Regions from separate parts of the Homo sapiens genome. Here region 2 is linked to region 1. Evidence: promoter capture Hi-C in human tissues and cell types (Jung and others, 2019). All regions are on one chromosome and are shown on one strand. Each heading gives the region's core, a stretch centred on a gene start or on the middle of the fragment in contact. The rest is flanking DNA. Distances are from core to core; before and after follow the strand shown.

Region 1 (4,763 bases), core at 1,228-3,727:
AGACTGGATAAAGAAAATGTGGCACATACATACCATGGAATACTATGCAGCCATTAAAAATAATGAGGTCATGTCCTTTGCAGGGACATGGATGAAGCTGGAAGCCATCATTCTCAGCAAACTAACACAGGAACAGAAAACCAAACACCACATGTTCTCAGTCATAAGTGGGAGTTGAACAGTGAGAACGCATTGACACAGGGAGGGGAACATCACACACGGGGGCCTGTCAGGGGGTTGGAGGGCAAGGGGAGGGAGAGCATTAGGACAAATACCTAATGCATGTGGGTCTTAAAACCTAAATGTCCGGTTGATAGCTGCAGCAAACCACCATGGCACATGTATACCTATGTAACAAACCTGCACATTCTGCACATGTATCCCAGAACTTAAAGTAAAATTAAAAAAAAAGAAAAGAAAAAAGAACTGAAGTTGTTTACTTGCTCTCATTCATGCATCCCGGAGAAAAAGGTTTGAGTGCACATCCTGGATTAGGCACTGAGAAAGGCACTAGCTGGACAGGTGGTGATGAATAAAACAGACAGTAAATAGAAATTACATCATAATAATGTGTCATATATTTTAAAATAGCTACAAGATATTTTAAATGTTCTCACCACAAAGAAATGACAAATATTTGGGCCAGACGCGGTGGCTCACGCCTGTAATCCCAGCACTTTGGGAGACCGAGGTGGGCGGATCACCTGAGGTCAGGAGTTCGAGACCAGCCTGGCTAACATGGTGAAACCCCATTTCTACTAAAAATGCAAAAAATTAGCCGGGCGTGGTGGTGCACACCTGTAATCCCAGCTACTTGGGAGGCTGAAGCAGGAGATTTGCTTGAACCTAGGTGGCAGAGGTTGCAGTGAGCCGAGATCGTGCCACTGCACTCCAGCCTGGGTGACAGGAGCACAACTCTGTCTCAAACAAACAAACAAAAAACAAAAACAAGAGAAATGATAAATATTCGAGTGATAAATATGCTCATTAGCCTGATTTGAACACACCACAATTATACACACATTGAAAAATCACATGGTACCCCGTAAATATAGACAATGATTTGTCAATTAAAAATGAAATAACACTTAAAAAATAAAAAAGTAAAAAGTAAAAATTACACCAATAAATATAAGAGGTACAAATTGTGCTAAGTGCCCTGGGGACACAGGAAAGGCGGGAAAACCCAGGGCTATATGCATGAGAGTTACAAAGGGAAAAGGACAGGAGGGAGGCAATTGCAGGAGGGGCTTGGGAGAATGCATGTCCTTGGGTGCAGGTCACAGGAAGGAACTCATGAGCTTGATTCAGGATGTGTTGAATTTTCGGGCCGAGACACGTCCAGTCTGCGGAAGGCTGGACATCTGGGACTCTGGCATCATGGCTGGGTTGAAGGCAGAGGATGGTAATCACTAAGGAGCCGGCTGTGGTTAGGCCACCAGCATGGATGAGACTCCCCAAAAGGAAGCTGCAGAATGAGAGGCAGGCAGAGGAGAGGAAAGAAGAAAATCACAGAGGTGGGGATGTCTTTGCATCCGTGTGTCTCCAGTGCCCAAAACAGGGCCTCGCGGAGAAGAGGTGCTCGGCACCTGTCTGTTGCCTGGCGGGCTGAATGAATACATGGGCGACTGTCTCAGTGTCGCCTTAGTTGTGTCCCTTCCTCTCTAGAGCTCCGTTTCCCTCTGACCTGGGTCGGGCGGGCAGCTGCGGCTGCTGAGGCTCGGTGGGGCCCCTCCAAGACGCGTGTCCGCATCTGCCCGCCGGGCGTCTGCGGGGTGCAGCGTCCACTGGAGCGCGACAGCCCCTGGGACAGAGGAGGACAGTGGCCTCGCTTCCCTGTGCGATCGCCCAGGAGCTCCGGGCCGGAGAGTGCGAGCGGGGAAAAGGGGTCCTGCACCTAGAGTGGGGCGGACGTGGCGAGGAAGCCAGGGGGGACCGGGAAGCGAGGCCCGCGGTGCGGAGGGCGCGGGGCGTGGGGGGACACCTCTCGGAGAGACACCGGAGGGGCGGAAGTAAGGAGATGGAAAGGAGAGGGAGATCGGGGAGATAGACCTGAGAGACCCAGAGGCCTGCAGAGAGTTTCATCCGGGACCCTTCAGAGCCCAGGAAAGAGCAGATGCGGACGCGGGAGGGCGCCTTACGCCAAAGCGGGCAGCACCAGTGACCAAAACACGCCCCGCTTGGCAGCCCCGGGACGCACCTCTGCCTCGGCAGCGCAGGAGAGGCTTGGACAGCGCGAGATGCTAGGGCCCAGGCTGCCCCTAGAGGGCTGGCCCGAAGCGTTGGAGTCCAAAGACGCCTCCCACCGCCGCCGGGTGGCAGAATTGGGGGCAGGCGCGTCCCACAGACCCCGAGGGGTGGCCCCGCCCCAGGGCCGCGGGGAGGCGCCCCCGTGCGGGGCGGAGTTGTCACCGCCCCCTCCCCAATCCCCGGGGACTGTGGCCCCTTCTTAAGCCCGCGGCGCCTCTAGCTGCCCCTCACTCGTCTCGCCCGCCAGTCTCCCTCCCGCGCGATGGCCTCGGCGCTGAGCTATGTCTCCAAGTTCAAGTCCTTCGTGATCTTGTTCGTCACCCCGCTCCTGCTGCTGCCACTCGTCATTCTGATGCCCGCCAAGGTCAGTTGCATCTCCAGGCAGCCCTTCGGACACCCGGCGTCCTGTGCCCACTAACGGGCACCGATCCCGGGAGCCCTGAGCTGGAGCGCACGGATTTCGCGGGGAGCACAGCTCTCCCGGGGCGCGCGCACTCAGGAGCTCCAGGTGCCGGATGGGAGGTGCCCTGTAAAGAATCTGAGGGGCATGGCGACCCCAGGGCGCACCACCCTTGGGGTTTACAGATCCCAGGGCGCAAGAGCCGTCCAGGCAAGCACGGAAACCTCGAAGTGAGCACAGATCTCAGCCACACAGATCCCAGCCTTAGGCTCAGCCCCTGGCTCCGAATCGAATCTCCCACAGTGCATAACCCTGTTTCCCCCCAAAATGCCACCTGCGCCAACAGGGAACCTGGGAGCTTGCCTTTCCCTCTCTCTCTCCTGTCTTTTCCCTTCGCCAAAGAAGACTTCAAGCTGTAGGTGGCTTCTGCCGTCAGGAGGGACCTACAGGAAAAAAATCATCACCCACGTGGATCCTGCGCTGTCTTTGCCACTCTCTGGCCCTTCCTTGGGCCTTAGTGTCTCTATCTATGATCCACATTCCTTCCAACCTGGAGAGCCACATCTGATTCATAATCCTGCTCCAGGCTGCAGGCAGGTTGGGGTTGGCCTGCTTTGCCTCCTGCCTGCTGGGGCTGTAGCAGGAGGCGGGACACATTCCCAGAGCTCGCGCCTTGGGTGGCAGGACCTGGAGTTGCAGGGAAGCTTCCTCCCAGGCCCTAGTCTCCTAATGCTTCTGTGAGGGAGAGAGAGAATGAATGGCCTTGGCCGCAGGGTGGGCGCAGGCTCCACTGGGCTGTGCACAGCCAGTTTGGCGGAGGCCCAAGCCCTTTGAAGCCTTTTGTGGCTGCTGGCTGCTCCTTCCTCGTTCCTTCTTTCAGCCCTTTCACTCTCAGCCCAGACAGGAAACCTCCAGCTCCCCACCTCCCCTCCCCAGGCAGGTTTGGGAAACAGAGGAGCTCTTCAGGGGATGCTCTGGGGGGGAGCTCTAGAGGAAGGGAGTGCACTGGGGTGTCAGGAAGCCAACCTGCAAGAGAACTGGACTTCCACCATTCTGTCATCTGTGTGACTTTAGCCAAGTGCCTGTGCTCTCTGGGCCTTGGTGTTCTCATCTGTACAATGGGGCTAGGTGGTTTGGTTCTGACACTTTAAGGCTTTGGGAATCAAAAGGGATTAACGTTAGTTCCTAGGATGGGGGAGGGGGAGACTGGGAGGAGCCCTTGGGTGGGCCTAGCACAGGCCCTGGATGGGTCAAGGACAGCAGATCCAACTGTGGAGGCTGTGCAGTTGCCACACCAACTGTGGGCAGCCACACTTCCTCTGTAGCAAGAAGTCTGGGGTTGTTATTGTCCAGGGGAAGTAGCCAGGCAGGAGAGCTGCGATTTCAGCTCTGCTGGTAGGGAGTGATGTTCCCTGGAATGATTATAGTAGCTTGGCTGACCTTCCTGCCACAGGAGACCCCACTCACACACACACACATACACACTCTCTCTCTCACACACACACACTCACAAACACACACAGACACACACACAAACACACAGACACACACAAAACACACGCACAAACACAAACACACACAAAAACACACGCACAAACACACACCCAAACACACAAACACAGACACACAAACACACACACAAACACACACACAAAACACACAAAAAACACAAACACACACATACACATACACACACACACACACACACACCCTGAACTGGAAACCCTAACTCAGTGTGTGTGTATGTGTGTGTATGTGTGTGTGTGTAAGAGAGAGAGAGAGAGAGATTAAGCTGTCCTTTGAGTGAGGACCAGGGAGGGGAAGAAGAGAACCCAGGGAGAGTCCTTCCAAAGGCTGCCTTCACGAGCTTTCCTTCTGGCGGGGTTGGGTGAGGACCCTGGACCTTGTCTTCTTGTTTTTTCCCTTTCTGCCTGTTTTGGTCACCCTGCCCCCACCCTCCATGGCCGCCCCATTGTGCAAGGAAACCCAGAGGGTACACAGCACGGGCAGGGCAGCTGGGAAGCTGGTGAGAAGCTGGGAGGACCTTGGCAGCCTGAGCAACACAGTCCTTGCCAGGAGGTGACTCCCAGGGCACGCCACCCTCTGCCAACAC
Region 2 (4,763 bases), core at 856-3,355, 260 kb before region 1:
CCACGCCTGGCTAATTTTTTGTATTTTTTAGTAGAGACGAGGTTTCACCATGTTAGCCAGGATGGTCTCGATCCCTGACCTCGTGATCTGCCCTCCTTGGCCCCACAAAGTGCTGGGATTACAGGCGTGAGCCACCGCGCCCGGCCGATAGGTATTTGTTTTCCCTGAAAGTTGGGAGTGGGTGGGTTGGGCTGCTTGTGAGGTGTATGGGAGGCGTGTGTGCTGGGTGTGACGGCTCCATACTCCCTGTGGAGTGCTTCCTGTGGTTACCACGCCTCAGGGCATGCTCTTGCTTCCTCCTGAGGGAGAAGTCTTCTATGTATTCCTGCAGGTACTGTAGGCTACAGTTCCCCTTTCCATCTAACCTAGTATTGATGAAGGGCAGGATCTTGGCTTTGCTCGGGAAAGAATTCAAGAGCAAGCCAGTGCTGGAAGAAAACAACTTTACTGAGGAGGCGGCTGTGTCACAGCTCTGTGACCGCTCCCGGGGAGCAGGACTACAGCGGAGGCAATCCGAGAGGACAGTGCAGGGTGGTGTGCAGCCATATTTATGCCCACTTTTAGTGACATGCTAATTAAAGGGGCACGTTATTCAGGAATAGCTAGGAAATGGGCAGTAACTTCTGGGTGTTGCTGTGGCAATGGTACATTGTCATGGTGCTGATAGGAGTGTCTTACGGTGATGGGCAGTGAGAGGTTCTTTCAGCCCCTCTACTGGTTTCGGTCAGTTTTGTTTTGTCTTTTTTTTTTTTTTTTTGAGATGGACTCTCTCCGTCGCTCCGACTGGAGTGTAGTGGTGCGGTCTTGGCCCACTGCAACCTCCGCCTCTTGGATTCAAGTGATTCTCCTCGCTCAGCCTCCTGAGTAGCTCGGATTACAGGCATGAACCACCACGCCTGTCTCATTTTTGTATTTTTAGTAGACACAGGGTTTCACCATATTGGCCAGGCTGGTCTCGAACTCCTGACCTCAGGTGATCTGCCCACCTCGGCCTCCCAAAGTGCTGGGATTACAGGCGTGAGCCACCATGCCCGGCCTTCAGTCAGTTTCAATCTGGTCTGGAGACGAGTCCCACCTGCCTCCTACCTCAGTATGATTTCTGTCTTTCAGCATGTTCTCTCTCCCCAGTCCAGCAAGCATTTCTGGTTTTTGAGCATAATTATTAATTTATTAATAATATGCTTCTGTTGTTTGTGTGGTTAGAATTTGGTGTAGAAGGGTAGACTGCAGTATCTATTAGTTCATCATCTTATAACCAGTATTGGATATTTTGTTCTTCTTCTCCTTTTTTTTTTTTTTTTGAGACAGGGTCTCACTCTGTCACCTAGGCTGGAGTGTGGTGATGTGATCATAGCTCACTGCAGCCTCAATCTCCTGGCCTCAAGTGATCTTCCTGGCTTAGCCTCCCAAGTAGCTGAAACCATAGGCAGGCATCACCACGCTCAGCTAATTTTCTTATTTTTGTAGAGATGGGGTCAACCTATGGTTACCCAGGCTGGTCTCCAACTCCTGGACTCAAGGGATCCTTCCGCCTCAGCCTCCCAAAGTGCTGGGATTACAGGCATGAGCCACCGCACCTGGCCAGATATTTTATTTTACATCAAATCCCCTTGCGTTGGTGACGGAAAAGATTTATTTTAAAACAGTTTTGTCATTCTCAAATTATGAATCAAAGAAGCAAAAAGTAGTTTAACTCATATATCCTGCTTCACCAGTTTGTTACAAAATTAGGTTACACTCCTTTTAATATTTAAACAATTCTGTGCCTCCACCCTGACTACTAGAATATGTTCTTTTCCATTCTCCAGGATCCTTCTTCCGTGATGTTCGCTAACAGCTCTACAGTACTTACTTTGGGCCAGACATTTTTCTAAGTGCTTTTTACATATAATAACTCATAACAACTCCGGATTCCTTAGAGAGGCTTGTTAAGTTTTATGGGTTAGCACTTCTTATTATCTTTGGAAGAACAAAGCCTGAAAACCTGCTCAGTCAGCCAGAGATTCCTGTTCTCTTTGGCTGTTGTTGCTTTTACTCACATATGATATTTCCGGTGAATCTCAGGGTGTCCTACTATTTTTCTGCTAGTCTACTGCTAGGAGAGTAGGTCCCCATTGAACACTGGTCAATGAGAGTATCACATCTTCTTGGACAGTGATTGGTTCAAAGATGGACATATGGTCCAAGATGGGCTAATCAGAGCTAACGAGGCTTTTTCTGGGGCTTTGATGGAAATAGAATGAAATCTTTGTGTTTCCATGGTGGCTGCCAAGCTGGTAGACTACAGGCCTGTTGACTCCAGTGACCCTCTTGGAGAAAGCCTGTCAGAGAATAAAGCCAACAGACAGGAAAGCAAATTGAGGTCACGGAGAGGGAGCAAGAGAGTGAGCCTTCGTCCTGATGATATTCTTTGAACCCCCTGATGCAGCCATGCCTGAGGTCAGACTAACCCTGACCTTTTATGTTATAGGAACCAATAATTTCCTTTTATTTTTATTGTTCTTTTTTTCTGTTTCCCTCCAACTTAGGTGAGACAAGAATGCCTATTTTATTTTATTTTGGTATTTTTTATTTTTTTGAGATGGAGTTTCACTCTTGTTGCCCAGGCTGGAGTGCAGTGGTGCAACCTTGGCTCACTGCAACCTCCGCCTCCCTGGTTCAGGTGATTCCCCTGCCTCAGCCTCCTGAGTAGCTGGGATTATAGGCATGTGCTACCCTGCCCGGCTAATTTTGTATTTTTAGTAAAGACAGGGTTTCGCCATGTTGGCCAGGTTGGTCTCGAACACCTGACCTCAGGTGATCCACCCACCTTGGCCTCCCAGACAGCTGGGATTACAGGTGTAAGCCACTGCACCAGCCTAAAAATGCCTATTTTTAAAAGCCACTTTGAATTCACTTTCTGTTACACGTAGACAAAAGAGTCCTGAGTAAGGCCAGAGGTGAGGCAGAGGTACGGTCTCTAGGCTGGAGCACCTGGGCAGCTGTAGACTGTGGCTAAAAAACTACTGACTTCAAACAATGTACCAGCCTGTGAGTGGCGTTCTTCCTGGCAGTCCAGGATTTGTGCAAGTGAGTTTGCATGTGGAGTGAATTTCTTGCTATCCTCATACCTGGGTTTTTTTTTTTTTTTTTTTTTTGAGACAGAGTTATGCTCTTGTTGCCCAGGCTAGAGTGCAATGGTGGCATCTCAGCTCACTGCAACTTCCACCTCCCAGGTTCAAATGATTCTCCTGCCTCAGCCTCCCGAGTAGCTGGGATTACAGGCATGCACCACCATGCCTGGCTAATTTTTTTTTTTTGTATTTTTAGTAGAGATGGGGTTTCTCCATGTTGGTCAGGCTGGTTTGAACTCCCGACCTCAGGTGATCCGCCCACCTCGGCCTCCCAAAGTGCTGGGATTACAGGCGTGAGCCACCGCGCCCAGCCACTGGGTCCTTTTTGTGGGGATATTTTCTCGAAATTGCTGGGACCTTCAACCCTCAGGGGTGGGAAGTTGGCATCTCCTAGGTTTTTTTTTCATATTTCTATGGGTGAGTCAGCCAGGATAAAGGTCAATGCATTTGAGTATGAGAAGACTGCCTAGTGATGGCCTTATAGTTTCATGTTGACTCACTATTTAATATTTCTTTTAAAATTTTTCATGTAGTTGGAAGTAGTCATCCCCTTTTTTTCTGGATAATTTATTATTATTATTATTATTATTATTATTATTATTATTTTATTATTATTATCTTGGTTCCTGCCTATTAATCTTAGGAGGGATAGAAGACAGTTGTGTTAGCATTAGTCTGCTTTGTGTTGCTATTAGGGAATACCTGAGGCTGGGTAATTTATAAACAAAAGAGGTTTATTTGGCTCACAGTTCTGCAGGCTGTGTAAGAAGCATAGTGCCAGCTTCTGCTTTTGGTGAGGGCCTCAGGAAGCTTCCAATCATGTTGGAAGGCAAAGGGAGAGCAGGCATGTCATATGGCAAGAGAGCAAGCAAGAGAGAGTGAGCAAGAAGGTATCACAAGCTTTGAAACAACCAGATCTTGTATGAACTCATTACCACTCATTACTTCAAGGATGGCACCAAGCCATTCACTAGGGATCTGCGCCTATGACCCAAACACCTCCCAGTAGGCCCACCTCCAACACTGGGGGTCACATTTCAGCATGAGATTTGGAGGGGCCGGATATTCAAATCATATCGACAGTTCTGTCCACCAGCTCCCAGAGGAGGTCCTTTAAAGTCAGCCACCTTGATTTGGCATCTCCTATTCAACTTGTATTTTCACACGGATAATCTTCCAAATTTCTCTATCATTATGTAGAGATCACCCTACCACTGGCCAGCTAGTTTGTGTTAATGTTTTTTTTTGAAATGGAGTCTCGCTCTGTCGCTCAGGCTGGAGTACAATGGCGTGATCTCGGCTCACTGCAACCTCCGCCTTCCAGGTTCAAGTGATTCTCCTGCCTCAGCCTCCTGAGTAGCCGGGATTACAGGCGCCCACCACCACACCTGGCTAATTTTTGTATTTTTAGCAGAGACAGGGTTTCACCATGTTGGCCAGGCTGGCCTCGAACTCCTGACCTGAGGTGATCCACCCACCTCGACCTCCCAAAGTGCTGGGATTACAGGCGTGAGCCACCACGCTTGGCTCTAGTTTGTGTTAATTTTATAGTAATATTTATTATCTTTTCAGTGGTTTCTGGTATCTGGAGGTGTTTTTGCAAGCAGCAGCAATACTTTTTTTGGGAGTGCGTCTTGGGTGGGGTTTTTA

Evidence for each region. Contacts are between HindIII fragments. The study calls those that stand out against the background at their distance.
Region 2: a fragment that was not itself captured here is called in contact with the fragment with the promoter of SLC13A5 in region 1 in 2 of the 25 tissues and cell types used here (mesendoderm cells and thymus).

What each region holds. Positions count from the first base shown.
Region 1 is chr17:6,711,083-6,715,845 of GRCh38, reverse strand. It overlaps SLC13A5 (solute carrier family 13 member 5), which reads left to right and starts at 2,477. Exons shown (of 12, transcript NM_177550.5): 1 at 2,477-2,614. The coding sequence starts at 2,513. The HindIII fragment of the contact is 16,548 bases long and covers 1-4,763 here.
Region 2 is chr17:6,974,466-6,979,228 of GRCh38, reverse strand. No RefSeq gene overlaps it. Among named protein-coding and RNA genes, the nearest start is that of ALOX12, 19 kb to the left of the region's middle. The HindIII fragment of the contact is 6,661 bases long and covers 1-4,763 here.